Regions from separate parts of the Homo sapiens genome. Here region 1 is linked to region 2. Evidence: promoter capture Hi-C in 16 types of primary human blood cells and fetal thymus (Javierre and others, 2016). All regions are on one chromosome and are shown on one strand. The core of a region is centred on a gene start or on the middle of the fragment in contact, and the rest is flanking DNA. Distances in the headings are between cores, read along the strand shown.

What was found. Contacts are between HindIII fragments. The CHiCAGO score rates a contact against its expected background, and 5 or more counts as called.
Region 1: a fragment that was not itself captured here is called in contact with the fragment with the promoter of PIK3CA in region 2 in 1 of 17 cell types (M1 macrophages); the score reaches 6.2 in M1 macrophages.

What each region holds. Positions count from the first base shown.
Region 1 is chr3:174,417,908-174,421,843 of GRCh38, forward strand. LOC105374226 (a long non-coding RNA gene) reads right to left here. Exons shown (of 4, transcript XR_924729.3): 2 at 3,818-3,936; 3 at 1,153-1,275. Among named protein-coding and RNA genes, the nearest start is that of NAALADL2, 440 kb to the right of the region's middle. The HindIII fragment of the contact is 4,219 bases long and covers 1-3,936 here.
Region 2 is chr3:179,145,491-179,149,637 of GRCh38, forward strand. PIK3CA (phosphatidylinositol-4,5-bisphosphate 3-kinase catalytic subunit alpha) reads left to right here and starts at 2,867. Exons shown (of 21, transcript NM_006218.4): 1 at 2,867-3,113. It overlaps PIK3CA-DT (PIK3CA divergent transcript), which reads right to left and starts at 2,483. Exons shown (of 3, transcript NR_125401.1): 1 at 2,426-2,483. RefSeq lists enhancers at 1,582-1,691, 2,302-2,421, 3,231-3,730 and silencers at 2,912-3,381, 3,442-3,491. The HindIII fragment of the contact is 3,906 bases long and covers 210-4,115 here.

The sequences.
Region 1 (3,936 bases), core at 693-3,192, 4.7 Mb before region 2:
ATGTATGTGTGTGTACACACACACACATATTTTTTGTAGGGGGCTGGGCAGTGGGGACGGAGTTTTGCTCTGTCACCCAGGCTGAAGTGCAGTGGTGCGATCTTGGCTCACAGCAACCTCCGCTGCCCAGGTTCAAGTGATTCTCCCTCTTCACCCTGCCAAGTAGCTGGGATTACAGGCATCCACTGCCATGTCCAGCTACTTTTTTATATTTTTAGTAGAGACGGGATTTTGCCATGTTGGCCAGGCTGGTCTCGAACTCTGGACCTCAGATGATCCGCCAGCCTCAGCCTCCCAAAGTGCTGGGATTACAGGCATGAGCCACCACTCCCGGTCCCCAAAGGAAAATATTTAAATATTTAAAGGACTTAGCTCCATTAATGCAGAGCAGGCAAATACAAAAATTTGAAGCTAAAAATAAATCAACTGGTAGCCAGTACAGGTGGCATGCCCTTGCTCTGGAATGTAAGAGTGTACACTTTGACTCTGCTTTTCACTTTTGCTAGAGGCTCGAGAGAGCATCTTTCTCTAATACCTTCGTATATGATGGGTTATATGGTCCAAGCAGATCTACCTATACCACAGTCAGAACATGTCAGAGCCCACAGTCAGAGCCCTTACTTACTCTGAGTTTGCACTCAAAACTAGCAGACTCCCAAACCATCCAACAGAAGGTTTTGGGCAGCATTTCAGGTGCAAAATATGCTACTTCTAAAATCCAAATGAACTCACTAAGATTTGTACTTATTCCGTATTGGTGAGTAGTGCGATAAATTGTTGTTTACTTTGGAAGAGATGCCCTGGATGACAAGATCACTAAAAACTTCAGCGAAGTATCATGTCCTTGAAACTTTATAGAGTTTATCTCCCACCTCTTGAAACATATATTTTAACAAGGTACCCAGAGTATTTTCCATCTATTGCTCATCAGTTTCCGTTAATAAGATGTCATAAATCTAGTGTACCAATACATTATTTTGTAATATGTCCACATGATCAAGGTTCTTTTAGACCATAATGACAAAGAACAGGAGAGTTAACATAGCACTGAGGAAAGACCAACAACATATACTGTTGTTTATTCAATGAATGCATACTGCATTTGATCCCCACCACCTTCTTATGTAGAATAAATTGTACATAGGGCCTCACCATACTGCGTCTTTTTTCTTTTCATTTCTTAATAAAAAATTTTTCTTTTGCTTTCTAAAGCCATTCCTTAGCTCCATAACTTTGGGCAAGTTAATTAGCTTCTCTGCAGATCAGTTGCACCATCTGTAAAATGCAGACGACAATATAAATATCTCAAAAGGGTTATTTTTAGAAATAAGTGAGTTAACACATGTAAAGTAGTTGGAATAGTTCCTGATGTGCAACAAGCATACAATGTTATTATTGCTGCTTTTAAAAAAATCTGTCCCACACATACATTTGTCCTATTAGTAGAGCTGTAGACTAGTCTGGTGATCCGGAAGAAGTTCTTAAGCCACTGTCTGCATGTCCTAGGTATGCAGTCCATCAAGTTCTAGCATTCATAGCTGTCTAGAAAATCTGCCTCTTAACCTAGAGAGAAGTGCTTTGGACATCTGGTGATTATGTACCATCTTTTGAACTTGGGTCTATTGAGTACTTAAGGATGATATGAGAAGGTAAAAAGAAGCACTATGTGACTTCACTCAAACTTTCCATTTCTTTATATTTGTATATTTATAAGGTCTATAACAATTCTAAGGGGCATCAAAAGATTAGTTTGAGAGTTTTTCTTGCCTTCCCCAAGCCAAAAACTTTATAGAAAGTTTTGTATTGTGACTGTAATGTAATTCTCATCAGTGCATTTTTTACTAATGCATTTGTACTTAAATTTGTTGGGGTTTTGGCTTAGCAAGACTATGCTGCAACTGTCTTCAATGCAGGCGCAGGGCAAAATTGACATATAGGCCCAGTTATAGGTAAGTGTTTACATAAATTTCTCAATCCAGATTGCCATATTACTACCAGAAAAATAGATGACTTATATTCTCAACAACAATGTGTAAGATTCTAGTTTAAAATACCTTCACCAGCACTGAGAACTATTCATTTTTATTTTTGTTCATTTGATAAGCAGATAACTCTGCCCTCCTTTTTATGAGAAAAAGAAACATCATTTGTGCATAAATTCCTTACATTCTATTTCGTTTTCTTAGCTACAAGGATATCTACAATTATGCCCATCTTCATCTCTTTCCCTTAATTAAGTCTTAGAGGATGCTGGCATCCCACCTTCTCTTAGAGGTTAGCCTACTACTTGTAATCTGATTCCTATACACATGCATTTTCTTCTGGGACTTGCTACATTAACTGTATTCTTGTTGGTACCTTCAGCGCTTCCTTCTCTATTTACTACTTCCTCTCTACCTGAAACATGAGTGAGTCTCGATCACTTTAAAATTATTTTTTCTTGATCCTGCATCATCTCTTTTCTTTATTTTGCCACCCCTTTTCTTTCTCTCCTTATCCTTATTTCTATTCCTATCTTGAAAGAGTGGTCGATGTTTTTTCATTTCTCATATCCATTTAAAGTCATTCAAAGAAGATTTTCATATATAACTTTTCAATATAATTATTTTGGAAATGATTTCCAATAATCCCTCTAGTTCATAATTCTAATGGCTACTTCTAGTTCATATAGTATTTTACCTCTTTAAGTTATTTGGCCTCATTGGCACTTTTCTTCTTTTTCCGAAATCCTTTCCTCTATTGGCTTTTGTGCTAGATTTTTTTTTTCAGTAAACATTCATCCTCACTCCTTTCTACTCTCTTCTAATTATTGTTGGAGCTAGAAACACCAGGAATTAAAATTTTCAAATTCCTTTCCCACCAGAATTTTGCAGTAATTTACATTCTAACAATGAGAACTTGCTTGAGATTTGAAAGAGAGGAAGCAAAAATCAATTATTTTTCTGGAATCAATGGGCACCAGTAACGGCTTCTGCAAACATGTAGTCAGCTGCGATTATTAACAGCAATTGTCCAAATTTCTAATAAGTTATAACAAATCTTTCTGATTAAAATAATTAGAGGTGTTTATGCTTATGTTTTTCTGATGAAAGCCTTACTAGTCAGCTTCCATGAAAAATACTCTGGTTTTTATTCTGATCCTTCTACAACTCAGTCCGCTCTTTATCAGTGTCCTTTGCAGCATCTAGTTCCTCTCTGCACTCCTTAAATGTTGGTGATTGTTGATGCTCCTGTTTTCTCATCCTACTACATCCCCTCCCTAGTCAATATCACTCATTCTTATACATTATTCTTAAGTTCCAGATTCATGTACAATAATAATGATTATATTAGTCAGATTGGATTTGAGGTAAAGGATAATTCCACAATTTTAGTGGCTTACACAAACAAATGTTTATGAGTTACTTGCATTTCATATCAACTGAGGGTCACTGTGAGTAGGATGTGGGGCTGAGCCCCTATTTGGGACACACTGTTATTACATGGTTCTCAAAACTCCTGCTTGGATGTGGCACATATCACCCGCATGATCAAGCATAGCATGAATAGTATAGGTATGTATATTGTTCACATGGGGAAGCACTGCAACTCACCTAGCAATTGGCATGGATATATACCCCTCCTTCAGGGATAAGGAAGTGCATATCTGTGGATGACAATTTAATCTAACACAATATTGATACCACTAATATCAGTAATTTAAAACTGTTACAATATAAGTATTCCTACTTCTAAAAATCTTTAGGATGCTTTTTATTATTTCATAAAATACCTACAATAGAGATAAACAGAAAATGTAAGAAACATAATGACCTACCTGCCATTTTCTTTCCCTCCAATTCTTACACTTCAAGTCTGAAGCAACTGATATTAACAGGCAAGTGAGTGCTGGTAAAGCCTCTGGCTCTGTTGAGATTTGTAGCTGATTGCTAGTTG
Region 2 (4,147 bases), core at 1,617-4,116:
AGTGAGCCAAGATCGCGCCACTGCACTCCAGCCTGGGTGACAGAGCGAGACTCCATCTCAAAAAAAAAAAAAAAAAAAAAAAAACAGTGCTACATGGTAACTCATATCGTTATCTCTTGGTGTGTTTTTATTGTTTGACTTGGCAATTTTATACATCTAAAGTATACTGCTACATAATCAACTTGACTCTTATTTACAAAGGACTTCAAAGCTTAGTAGTGACTTAAGCGCTATTAGAGAATGTTTCGGTGCATATTTGAGTATCAGTTATGATTTTCAATGGAAATAAACCCAAAAGGCAAGTAACTGTCATTATAATTCTGATTATTAGAATAGAACAATAGCTACATACTGGACATTTCACCTCCCGTCTTTAGAACCCTTAGGATGCAATTATTTAATTTTGAAGTATACCATTTTTTGTTTCATTTACAGCCTGAGAATCATTATTTTTTTAAAACCTTCTTTCAGCTCCTAATCCTTGAGTGATGAGTTTGGTCATATAGATGCTTATATCATACAGATATTTTTATATCATATAGATATTTTAAACACTGAATAACATTGCAAAAACCTTTGAAAGCAAGATGACACCTAAGACCAATGGCTTACATATAAGGCAAACATTATCAACCGTGAATTGAATAGTAAATGCTACTCCTGTACCAATGAATGGTGTCATGCATTCAAGTACCAGGTATGGCTTTTTCTGCTATGACACACAACTTCTTAGGGGCAGATAATCACATAACAAAAAACATATTATGTAATTAGCATTTTCTTATTAAAAAATAAATTTTAGGCTGGGCATGTCGGCTGAAGTCTGTAATCCCAACACTTTGGGAGGCCGAGGTAGATGAATCTCTTGAGCCCAGGAGTTGGAGACCAGTCTGGGCAACGAAGCAAGACCCTGTCTTTACAAAAAATAAAACATTTTTAAAAATCACAAATAGGCCAGGTGCGGTGGCTTACGCCTGTAATCCTAGCACTCTGGGAAGTCGAGGGGGGTGGATCACCTGAAGTCAGAAGTTTGAGACCAGCCTGACCAACATGGTGAAACCCCGTCTCTACTAAGAAATACAAAAATTAGCTGGCATGTTGGCTGGTGCCTGTAATCCCAGCTACTCGGGAGGCTGAGGCAGAAGAATCGCTTGAACCCGGGAGGCAGAGGCTGCAGTGAGCCGAGACTGCACCGCTGAACTCCAGCCTGGGCTACAGAGTGAGACTCTGGCTCAAAAAAATAATAATAATAAATAAATAATAAATTTTATAAGGAAAAATATCCCTAGTATATTTTTCCCCACCAAGGTCTACCTATTAATATCTCATATAACTCTGTGCTTGAAACACAATTTGGGATATATTGCCTTAAAATTTACTTTGACTAGCAATTCAGTGTTCCTTTTTTAAAAAAATCTGTACTCTGGAGTAACAGTGTTCTAAAACTGTTGAAGAACATTGGTTCGAGAAAAACATTTAGAAACACAAACCCCTGGAATGTGAGATGAAAATCCGAGCTAAAGGGAGAAAAAGGACGAAAGAAAGAAAACACAGAAAAGAAAGAAATACAGTCAAGTGAAACTACGACCACAAAGAGGAACAGATCCATCTCATTTACCATTGGGGTATGGACGGACGTGCGGTGTTCGAGAAGACTGTTATTGGTCAGAGTTTTGCTCTAGAGGACAAGTAGGACTGTAACATCTCTAGGATGGGTCACTTCCCAAGCCCTCTATTACTTAAAAATTCAAGGAGGAACCGATGCTGGAGTACTTGTATCTCAGACTTCTAATCACTGCTCCTACGCTTTTCCAATATTACAACAAAAGACCAGTAGGGGGAGAAAAACGCACAGTACCGAACCCTTATCAGTAGTAATCTCAAAAGTCAACAGATTGATTTACTCTCAAGCAAACAGACTTCTAAGGTACGCAGCACCAAGACACTACCTTGAATCAAATCTATAGCCTATATGACATTTCTGAAGTCTCTGTTGGCATTACGCGAAAAATCCCCCACGTCTTCTGAATAGTTAGAATTGAATCCTACAAGCTGCTTCGAATCAGAATTCGATTTAAAAAAAAAAATGAGGGCATAGCAAAAGGTCTCCACGAAGTGAGTCAAAGGACTGCAGAGGGCTGTGACAGTGCATTCCGCCTTCGGGATGGTATACAACTTAAACCATGTCGGCAGAAGAACGCACAGCAACGCTTTGTAAAAAGCATTCTTTCTATTATAGAATCCATAACCACGCTGGTTAGCCACTGACAGCGGCGGTTAGCCACCGCACCTCCTCTCACCCCCGAACTAATCTCGTTTCCTCTATGGGTGTAAAAGTGAAATAACCCACTTGCTCCCAATATTCCTTTCTATATCTCTACCCCAGCTCGCCTGCTGCTCGTAGAAACAAATATACTACACGTACGCTGTCCTAGGATGACACAACACCCTCACTACTGCAGAAGACGGATCATTAAACAAACGTCAGAAGAGCAGCCCCAACTGTACATAAACTTCGGGCGGAAAAGCAAGACGCAGGCGCAGTAGCACATATTGTTACCCTATTTGCCCACTCCCTGCTCCTCCTCGCCTCAATTTCGCTTCCGCTTCTTTGCGCATCTGCTTCCGGGGGATTGTAGGCTCTGCCCCTCCTCAGCTCTTACCCTCTTCTGCCGGAGGAGGGGGGGGGCCGAGGGGGTGGGGAAGAGTTCGTTGTTTGTTTACACGATGTGAGCGGAAAAAGAGACCAATAAAGTTTATTCTGGAAACAAAAGGAAAAAAAAACAGGGGCGACGGAGAAAGGAGTCGGGGGCGGGGGCGTGTGGCGGGGGCTAGCGAGGAGAGGGAGCGAGAAGTAGAAAGCGGCAGTTCCGGTGCCGCCGCTGCGGCCGCTGAGGTGTCGGGCTGCTGCTGCCGCGGCCGCTGGGACTGGGGCTGGGGCCGCCGGCGAGGCAGGGCTCGGGCCCGGCCGGGCAGCTCCGGAGCGGCGGGGGAGAGGGGCCGGGAGGCGGGGGCCGTGCCGCCCGCTCTCCTCTCCCTCGGCGCCGCCGCCGCCGCCCGCGGGGCTGGGACCCGATGCGGTTAGAGCCGCGGAGCCTGGAAGAGCCCCGAGCGTGAGTAGAGCGCGGACTGGCCGGTAGCGGGTGCGGTGGGAATGGGGACCGGGTGGGTGCCGGAGACTCCCGGGCGCGCCCGCCGTGTTGGGCGGAGGCTACGGGCTGGTCGTCTCCCAGCGTCGGCCCGCGGCGGAGTTCGCCTGCGATCGCCGCACCCTCTCCCTCGCCTGCCTCTGGCCTCTCCTAGCTGCAGAGGCGAGGGCTCGCCGCTCCCTCTCCTTTCTCTCTGGCTGCCGCCTCGCTCTTCCTTTGCTTCTACTCCCAGTTTTGGGGACGGGGCGGCTGGAGGTTGAGGAAGTGCGCCCAGGGCCGCCGCCCCGGCCGCGGTGGCTCTGTCTCCCGCGCCCTGCACGCCCACCCAGCCCGCGGGTGGAGGGGCTGCCGCGAGGACTGCGGCTCAAGGGACGCGGGCGCGAAACCGCGAGCTTTTCTTGAGGGGCTGTCACGCCCGAGGACTCCGGCCCCGCCAGCCTGGCGGCCCTGCGTTTGCCTCTTACTGGGTTTAAATCGCCCGGCAGGGGTATGGAAGGAACACCGCTCCCCTCACCCCCGCCAGCTCCCCTCCCACCCTTCCTTTCGAGGTTGTTTTTTCCTTTTAGCTGAGACAAACGCTTAGATCTTTCATTCATAGACCTGAGACACTGACTCATGTGACTTGTCTCTTTACTAAGTGTATTATGTGATGCCTGTTCCATGGCTCTTAAGTGGCTCGGAAAGGTAGGGTAGGGCCCGGGATTGGGCTATGTAAACACCAGACGTTCAGCCGGCGTGTTTTTGACCTCGGCTCGAGGGGTTTATTTTAGGATGCTAAAGGAATAGTGATGGTGGCCAACCGTGTTACCAGACTTGGGAATCGAAAGCTATTTTTTTATGTCAATAATTGAGACTGTTTACATGGTTAAATAAAGGGTAGGGTAAAGGGAGCGCAACAAGAGGGTCTTTCTAGAAAACAGTCTGCATATTCTTTAATGAATTAGAGTTGTGATTTCATCTTGGTGAAGCTTCCTCATTCCAGCACTGCGCCTTTGTGC